2 separate regions of the Homo sapiens genome follow, and region 1 is linked to region 2. Evidence: promoter capture Hi-C in 16 types of primary human blood cells and fetal thymus (Javierre and others, 2016). All regions are on one chromosome and are shown on one strand. Each heading gives the region's core, a stretch centred on a gene start or on the middle of the fragment in contact. The rest is flanking DNA. Distances are from core to core; before and after follow the strand shown. Region 1 holds the start of ITPRIP (inositol 1,4,5-trisphosphate receptor interacting protein). Region 2 holds the start of DUSP5 (dual specificity phosphatase 5).

What was found. Contacts are between HindIII fragments. The CHiCAGO score rates a contact against its expected background, and 5 or more counts as called.
Region 1: a contact is called between a fragment that was not itself captured here and the fragment with the promoter of DUSP5 in region 2, in 1 of 17 cell types (total B cells). The highest score is 5.4, in total B cells.

The regions. Positions count from the first base shown.
Region 1 is chr10:104,334,864-104,338,853 of GRCh38, reverse strand. ITPRIP (inositol 1,4,5-trisphosphate receptor interacting protein) reads left to right here and starts at 389. Exons shown (of 2, transcript NM_001272013.2): 1 at 389-608. It also overlaps a transcript of CFAP58 not described here. RefSeq lists an enhancer at 1,512-1,711. The HindIII fragment of the contact is 1,053 bases long and covers 2,048-3,100 here.
Region 2 is chr10:110,495,514-110,499,458 of GRCh38, reverse strand. DUSP5 (dual specificity phosphatase 5) reads right to left here and starts at 1,552. Exons shown (of 4, transcript NM_004419.4): 1 at 959-1,552. The coding sequence starts at 1,337. DUSP5-DT (DUSP5 divergent transcript) reads left to right here and starts at 2,977. Exons shown (of 2, transcript NR_187547.1): 1 at 2,977-3,071. RefSeq lists silencers at 826-1,095, 1,216-1,275, 1,346-1,485, 1,496-2,025 and an enhancer at 2,507-3,030. The HindIII fragment of the contact is 7,811 bases long and covers 1-3,945 here.

The DNA of each region.
Region 1 (3,990 bases), core at 1,325-3,824, 6.2 Mb after region 2:
TTTGTCTAGAGTTATATTTTCCTCCAAGAGACTAAATAGGTGGCCCCAGGAATTCCGCCACTTGTAAAACGCGCCGCAGAAAACTCTCCCCGACTGGTAAGGACTTAACCCCTTCCGCTCCGCGGCTTAGGACGACTTTTAAGGGCGTCCTCCCCGCGCCCCTGTCCACTCGCTCCAGTTTACTCCACTGGCCTGATTCCGTCTCTCCCAGTCACTCTCCAGTTCTGCCGTGCCGGGGAAGTTTCTGGGGGCTCACTGGGAAGGTCTTCCCGGCGGATCCTGGGCCCAACCACCGAAACCCACACGGTCCTCCTTAAGGAGCTTCCGGGGCCGCGGGTAGAGGCGGGTGTTTTGTTCTTATAAGGAGGAAAAAGTTTTTGTGACATCCAGGAAATGAGTAACTCTGAAGTTCAGTAGAGCCGGCCGCTGCAGGCCAGAAGGTGGGAGCCAGCGGGGGCATCGCCGCCCGCGCCCCTCTAAGTGCCGGGCCGCAAGCTCCACCGCAGCCGCCTGCAAGCAGCGGCGCCTCGGCCCTCGACCTGCGCGCAAAGCCTGTGCTGGAGCCGTCCTCCCGCGGCGGGGACCGGGACCGGGGACCCAAGCCAATCGTAAGTCCCAGGGCAGCCTAGTGTGCTGAAGGAAGAAGGGCGCGATGGAGAGCGCGAGCTCGGAGGAGCTGTGTCGGAGATGGCTGCCGACAGAGGGGGCGCAGGAGGGTGTGGGGAGCGCGGGCGCCTGCTCCTCCCGGGTGGGGGCTGACTTTGGAGACCCCCTTCCCTTAAAGCGCGCGTGCCCAGGCGGGCGTATTGTCTCCTCGCGGTCCCGCATCCTGTTCCCGCCGCGTCGGGGGATGCGTCCCGGGCGCTCGCTCCAGCCAGGGCTGCGGGCAGCTCCTCCTCGAGGCGCGCGCAGCCTCGGAGCCCAGAGCGGGACCACATTTTTGTTCCTAGTGGCCAGGTGACCCGTTACTTCTCACATCTGAGCAGAGCGCTACCGAAGAAAGAAAAGCCGGTTCGCCCTGCTCATTTGCTGCCCCCTTTTCCCCTTCCCCTTCCCTCCCTTCCTGTAAGGGAGGAATAGGCGTGAAGTTTTTTTTTCTCGGTTCATGGTAGTGAAGTTATGGGGCTGCTTCAGGCCGGATAAAATCCCCGCCGCTTCCTCTTTCGGGACTATTAGTGGGCCAGACCTCACGCTGTGCAGACTTGCTCTTGGGCTGCAAATAACTCTCTGCCCCTTCACCCCTAACCCCACCCTCAACCCCATCCCTGTGACTTTGCCATTCTGGCCGCCTGGTGAAGACTCCCGGGGCGGGACTCCCCATCCAAAACGCTTTCTCTTAAAAAAAGAAAAAGAAAAAGAAAAAAAAAGCCACCGACCAGGAAGGTAAAATATTTTACGGAACCAGGCAGGGGCCTCATTTTGCCTTTTGCCCCTCTGCTGGTATGAGAAAAGCACCCTTTCACAACTAGTAGAGTACCAGATACTGGTCTCATTTCACAAACAGTAGAGTACCAGATATTGGTCGCAATCTGGACTCTGGTCTTTTGGATCTAAATCGGGGTCGCGGTCTATTTTCTTGTTCTTTTTTTGGATATGACCCAGTGCTCTTGCCTTTTACAAACCGAGTCTATCTGACTGCCAGCTAAAGTTCATCTGTGGTTGGTGCAGTTTTAGGCCCAGGTGAGCCCTGAAAATAGAGTATCAGAAAAGTGGATTACTGTCTTTCCTCCTTACGAAAACAGAATAGGCTGTGTTTTTGAGTCCTCCCTCCAGCCCTCGTGCCTAAGTGGCTTTCATTGTTTGCTAATTCCCTGTATGTTGCGGCTGCTCTGGGCCATTCTGCCTTCGGATTTTCTCCACTTGTGGGTAACCATGAAGTAGTTATACTGACTCTCTGCTCTCCCTGGGTGCATTCTTCTCATGCTCAGTAAATCTACATTTTACGTAAGATAAAGTAAGCATGTGAAATTATAGCTATCTGTTTGGCAACAAAAGGAATGCAGTTTTGTTTTCGGTTTTGTTTTTTGCATGACTGAGTTCCCAAGCTTAACTTTTCCCTTTGGCATCCTGAGCTTGGGGTCCTAAGGTTGTATTTTCCTTTCACAGCTATCAGCAGAGACAGGTAGCCATCAACAGTTAGGAAAGAGTCTGGGCTGGGTGGCTGCCTGTCTTCCCAGAGCTTTGGGAGGCTGAGGTGGGAGGATTGCTTGAACCCAGGAGTTCCAGGCTTAGAGCTGGGATCACTTGGTTGGGATCACTTGGTTGGAGCTAGGATCGTGCCACTGCACTCCATCCGGGTGACAGAGTTCAGACCCTGTCTTTAACCTACCCCCCAATGCCCCGCTGCCCCCCCCCCCCCAAAAAAAAATAACTGGGCAGGAGAAGGTGCTTTCAGAGTCCAAGACTCAGGTTCCATGTTTCGAGTTGAGAGTCTGCCCCAGTAGGGTTGAGGTGGCACGGCAGCCTGTGGGGCTTTAATGGAGAATCTGCTTGGAAGGGGTGGGTGCTCCAAGTGTTCTGGGAGCTGAGAAGCAGGACTTTATTATGGATGACACCAGGCCATCCTGGACCCTTCTCTCATCCAGTCTTGCTGGGGAGGGGTACAGAGCCAGGAGGATGCTGAGAACTGTTCATGATAACCTCCAGGGCTGCTGCTAGCCTATTCAGTCCTTCGCATGAATTAGAATAAGGTGCTCTGTCTTGGCAAGAGGATGGGGCTTGATGCCTCTTAGAAATACTGGCCTTACTTGAGTGGACATAGCCAAGCCATATAGCTGGATAAGTGGCATGTGAGCTGGATTTATCCTCACCCCTCAGCCAGGTGCCTTAAGCAGTACACTGCCTGGTCCACCATTCACACAGCAGCCCTGATAAACAACCACTATTGAGGGCTTAACATTCGCCAGGCTTTTTTTTTTTTTCCCCAAAAGTACTTAGCCTGTATTAACTCATTTAATCCTCACAGTAGCCGTATGAGTTAGGTATTGTTAACTCCATTTTACAGATGAGGAAACTGAGGCACAGGGATGTTAAGTGTTCCAGAGCCTGGAAGGTGAGTCTTAATCACTGGGCATTCATAGACCAAGAAGCAACTTAAGCTTAAAAAGCTAGTTTAATTGGGAACCCTCGTGGGAAAGGGGGAAGAACAGTTGCCTTTTTCTTTCTCTGTCAAAGGAGGAAATACCCATTCTCAGTCCAGGTGGAGGAAGGAGGGGAAATTCATCTGGCAGGAGGCAGAGGAGGAAAGAAAAGAGGCAAGCCGGGCCTTGATGGCTGATGGGGAGCCTGGCCCAAGAATCAAGTGACTTTCCTTAATCTCTGGGCGGTGTGAGGTGGCAGATCCAGTTTGGGGCCTGGCATGAGGGTGATGAGTAAGTGCCCCCAGGTGTGGCTCAGAGGGAAACGGCGGTGGCTGCACGCAGGGTCCTGACCTAGGCAGAGAGCGAGTGGAAGGAGGTGAGACAACTGTCCTGACCTTCCAAACCCCTAATCCCCATCTGTGGTCTCTTGCTTCCTTGTTGAAGTCCCATTCACCCACAAATGCCCTTCTCAAGTTCGTCCAAGAACCCTTCCTGAAACTCCATTTCACAGTTCCATATACATGATCTCTTAGTTTCCACACCGTACAGCTGAGCGCTTAATTAGCTGGAACCGAGCATTTCACTATGTACTGTCGATAGGCACTTTAAACAAAATAGGCTTCTCATCAGTGAGGAAGTCAAGATGCCTCCTGGGAGGGGCCAGCTGGTGCCCAGCAGATTGCTCAGAGGGTGGTGTTTACCTGGATCACGTCACCTGTCCCAGGGCATGGCTCTTAGCTGTGCCCGCTCAGAAACCCAATTTCCATAATTTTCAGAGTGGTTTGGACTCAAGCTACTGATTCACCCTGAGAAAGCTCCCAGAAGAGGGTGTACGAATCAGAATGCTGGTTTATTAATTTGCAAGGAGACTTCGCAAACATCACACAGACTGAATGTCGTCTCTTCCCTG
Region 2 (3,945 bases), core at 303-2,802:
GGGCTAAACCCTCATCTCTACATGTGGGTCAGGTCTCCCCGGGTGTCATTTGAGGTTACAAAGGACTCAAACACAAAGCAGGAGCAGTCATAGGAAGTAACCCAGAAAAAACCAATGCTTTGGATTTTGAGAGTCAATCACCCACCCACCACCAGAAGCCAAAGTTATCTTCCCGGCAGGTGAAATGGGCAGGCCTGTGGCGGTAGCTCCGGGAGGTGTCAAATCAAAGGCCGCAGAATCTCCATACCACCCTGCCCCCGCGCACCTCTATTTCGTGGCTGGCTGGCTGTAGGCTCAGCTCAGGATGGGTCCCAGGGATAATCCTGGGGCGGAGGAAGGAGGAGGTGAAAAGGGTGGAAAGGATGTGAGCTCCAAACTGAGCTAGAGAAAAGACCTAGGAGGGGAGAAGAGGCCGGAGGGAAACAATAAAAAGCAATAAAATGAAATGGAAAGGGAAGGGACTCGCCAGGTCAAAAAGGCAAGGGGGTCGGTGAAGACCACAGCTGGCTAGGCGGGAGGAAGGGGGGCACCACGGCGCCACACCAAGGGAGAGTGGATCGCGACCTGCTGATCCCGCCAGATCAGTCTATCAGGAAGGCCCCGAGCCCTGACCCCAGCGACAGCGGCGAAGCTCGCGTCTGGAAAGGGGGCTCGTGCCCGGCACGAGCCGACGGCCCCCAAACTGCTAAACAGCAGCAGCCCCCGCAGCATAACCAACTCCACCCAGACCACCGGGCAGACCCGCTGCCGGGCGCTTTCGAGGAACGCGGGTGGGGAAGAGGGGGAGCTCTGAGTGCTGACATTTGCAGTGCCCTCCCAAGCGCACAACAAGCCACAGGGTGCAGACTCCTGCAGGTGGTGACTCTCCCGGTCCCAGGGTGTAGGAGGGCGCCCCGGCGCAGGGAGGGGACCCGGGGGCGCCGGAGGGGCGAGCGTGGCAGGGACCCCGAGCGCTCACCTTTGAGGAAGTAGACCCGCGGGCCGGCGGGTAGGCAAGCGAGTAGCGAGGTGAGGACGACACGCGCGGCGCTCTCCTCTCGCAGCTTCTGCCAGTGGCGGCTGCCCTGGTCCAGCACCACCACGGCCGCGACGCCGCCGCCGCCCTCCTGCAGGAGCCGCGCGCGCGCCGCCTCGTCGGGCAGCACGTAGCGCGCCGACACCGCGCCGCCCCGGGCCCGCCGCAGCACCACCGAGTTGAGGTTGACGTTGAGCGAGCCGCGCACGTTCGAGGCAGCGAAGGCCAGATAGGGCCGGCAGTCGAGCACCACGCAGCGCGCCGCCGCCTCCTTGCGGAGCATCTTGCGCAGCTGGCGCCCGTCGAGCGACGTGACCTTCATGCCGCCGCCGCCGCCGGCCAGCGGCCCCGCGCCGCGCGCCCCGCGGGTGCCCACGGCCAGGGTGTCCACGGCCAGGGTGTCCGCGGGCGAGGCACGGGAGGGCGACCCGCGGGGCTGCGGCCGCGACGGAGCCCGGCGCCCGAGCGGCGGCGCAACTCCGCGTTCCCGCCCCGCTCGCTCGATAGCCAGCCCGGCCGCTCGCCGCCCTAGAAGCCGGGGATTCCGCCGGCCGCGCAGCGTTTTATGTGAATGAGTGCCGTCCGTGACGCGGCTGCCCATATAAGGCCAAATATGGGTGTTTCCCCGCCCCTCGGGCCGTGGCCACGCCCTGCAGGGGGCGGGGCAGCGGGGGCGAGGGACGCGCGGGGCGGGTGCCGGCGTTAGAGCGAGAGGAAGTGGAAGGCGCCTCTTCGTTCTCTCTTCCGCGCTTCGCTGAGGGACTCACTCGCGCATCACCCGCGGCTGCCGGTCGAGTGTCCCAGGCGCTCCGGGGCCGCGGTGACCCTCGCGGTGCGGACCGAGGAGGAAGCGCCGTGGGGGGCGGGGCGGCGCCGCACGATCCGGCCTTCAGCTTCACGGACGTGGGCTGAGAACCCGCCCGCGCCGCGCTGAGCAGGGCCGAGGGAGCCGGCCAGGGCCCCAGAGGAGTCCGGAACGGATTCCCGTCGCTACCGAGGTCTGCGCGTGTAAGGAGAGGACGTCGGAGATTTGCCTCGAGGGGTGGGGTATAGATGACTGGAGAGGTCAGGCGCGGGTTGGTCATCGCTGAGGCTGGGTGATGGGTGGCCGGATTCGTTATACTGTTTTCTCCACTTTTCTGTATGTTTGATATTTTTCATAATAAAGTTTGTAAAAGTAAAAACGGGGGTTGGGGGTCGGCGGTGAGAATAGCCATTTAATCTTCCTAAATGGATTCTGCCCTCAAAGGATTGACGCTCTTTTCTCTGTCACTCTCCAATAATGATTAGAATAATAAGTTGTATTTTGAGGAGCTGTTTTCTGGTCCCGGGGAGACCCTTGGTGAACTCAGCAGTACCATCAGCATGTATCCCACGATGGAGCTCAGTTCAGCCAACTGTTGTCCAGGTGGCTTCTGGATTTGGGGGATTATCTATGGATCAAGTTTAATCTCAGGCTGTCTGCCCCCACCGGTCCCCAGGGGCTTCAGGCCTCCCACCCCTATTCCTGGGGAAGCAGACACAATTCACCCATTCAGCAAGCATTTATTGAGGGTCAGCCGTGTGCCAGGGCTTTGCTAGCTGCGGGGACACATGGATGGAAACAGGTTTCTGCCCCCAAGCTCACTGCCAACCATTTTATTGTTAGCCTGGCTGGGACTGCTTGATGGAAAACAGTCTGCCCGCACTAGACAAGGGCTTGTTGACAACTGACATAAGGGAATGAGGTTTTCAGAAGGAAGCAGAGATCAAATTTTGAAATCAGATGCAATCAAATCAGACACCAGGACAGCCAGCATTGCCTCTGGGTCACAGATGCATCCACCCAAAGGCGCTGTCCTCGCCTTGCCAGTGGGGTCTTGGTGAAGACGTGATGCGGGGGCCTTCTTTCTTTTTGTGGTTATCTGTGCCAGCCTTCCCTGCAGGCTGCTCTTCCTCTAGCACGTTCTGTTTCTGTTACCGGCTCTTTCCACCCCCGGCATCTCCGCCTAGAGCCACACACATACGCGGAGCACCCACGTGGGCCAGGCTTTGTTTTGGGGCTGGCGGCACCAACGTGAGTAAGACTTATACTCAGCCCCAGCTGCCCCCAGCCCAGAGGGAAGGGGAAGGCCTGTAGTCCGTGGGGAAGAGCGCCCAGTAGGGGTGTGGCAGGGTGGGGCGTGGGCTGGAGAAGGCCTCCCGAGGAGAGGAGAGCTGAGGCCAACTCCGAGGAATGAATTGTAAGCCAGGCTGCGAAGCAGGAGGGGAGATTCCAGGCAGAGGAAACTGCTTGGGGTAAAGAAAACAAAAAACGCAACCCCCCCAGCATGGTGCGTACTGGAGGTATGTGGGAGACTAAGGCCCTTCTGGTATTTATTAGCAGATTAAGCAGGGTCAGGCAACAGAGGGCCTTGTGCTGTTTTGAGTCATTTGGGTCTTAGTCTTTGGCCGGGCAGTCCCCAACGAGGGATCTTACTCAGTGACAAGATCCGGATAGCATTTGGGAACATCGCTGAGGCGGCTCTGTGCGGGATCGGTGCTTTATTTGAGAGTGGTGGTGGGGTCCGGAGTCTGGGGGATGGATGGGAGGATTTCATGGGTAATCTAGACATGAGCTGATATGGACTTGCCAGAACTTGGCAGTGACAGCAGCTATGGGGAGGCCATAGGAATGGGAGCACATTGAGGAAGTGAGATGCTGGGAGGGGTGAGATGGGGAGAGAGAACTGGAGAGGGACACCAAAGATTTTTTTGTTTCCGGATTTTTTTTTTTTAGATAGGTTCTCGGGCCGGGCGCGGTGGCTCACGCCTGTAATCCTAGCACTTTGGGAGGCGGAGGCAGGCGGATCACCTGAGGTCGGGAGTTCGAGACCAGCCTGACCAACATGGAGAAACCCCGTCTCTACTAACAATACAAAAAAATTAGCCGAGCATGGTGGCGCATGCCT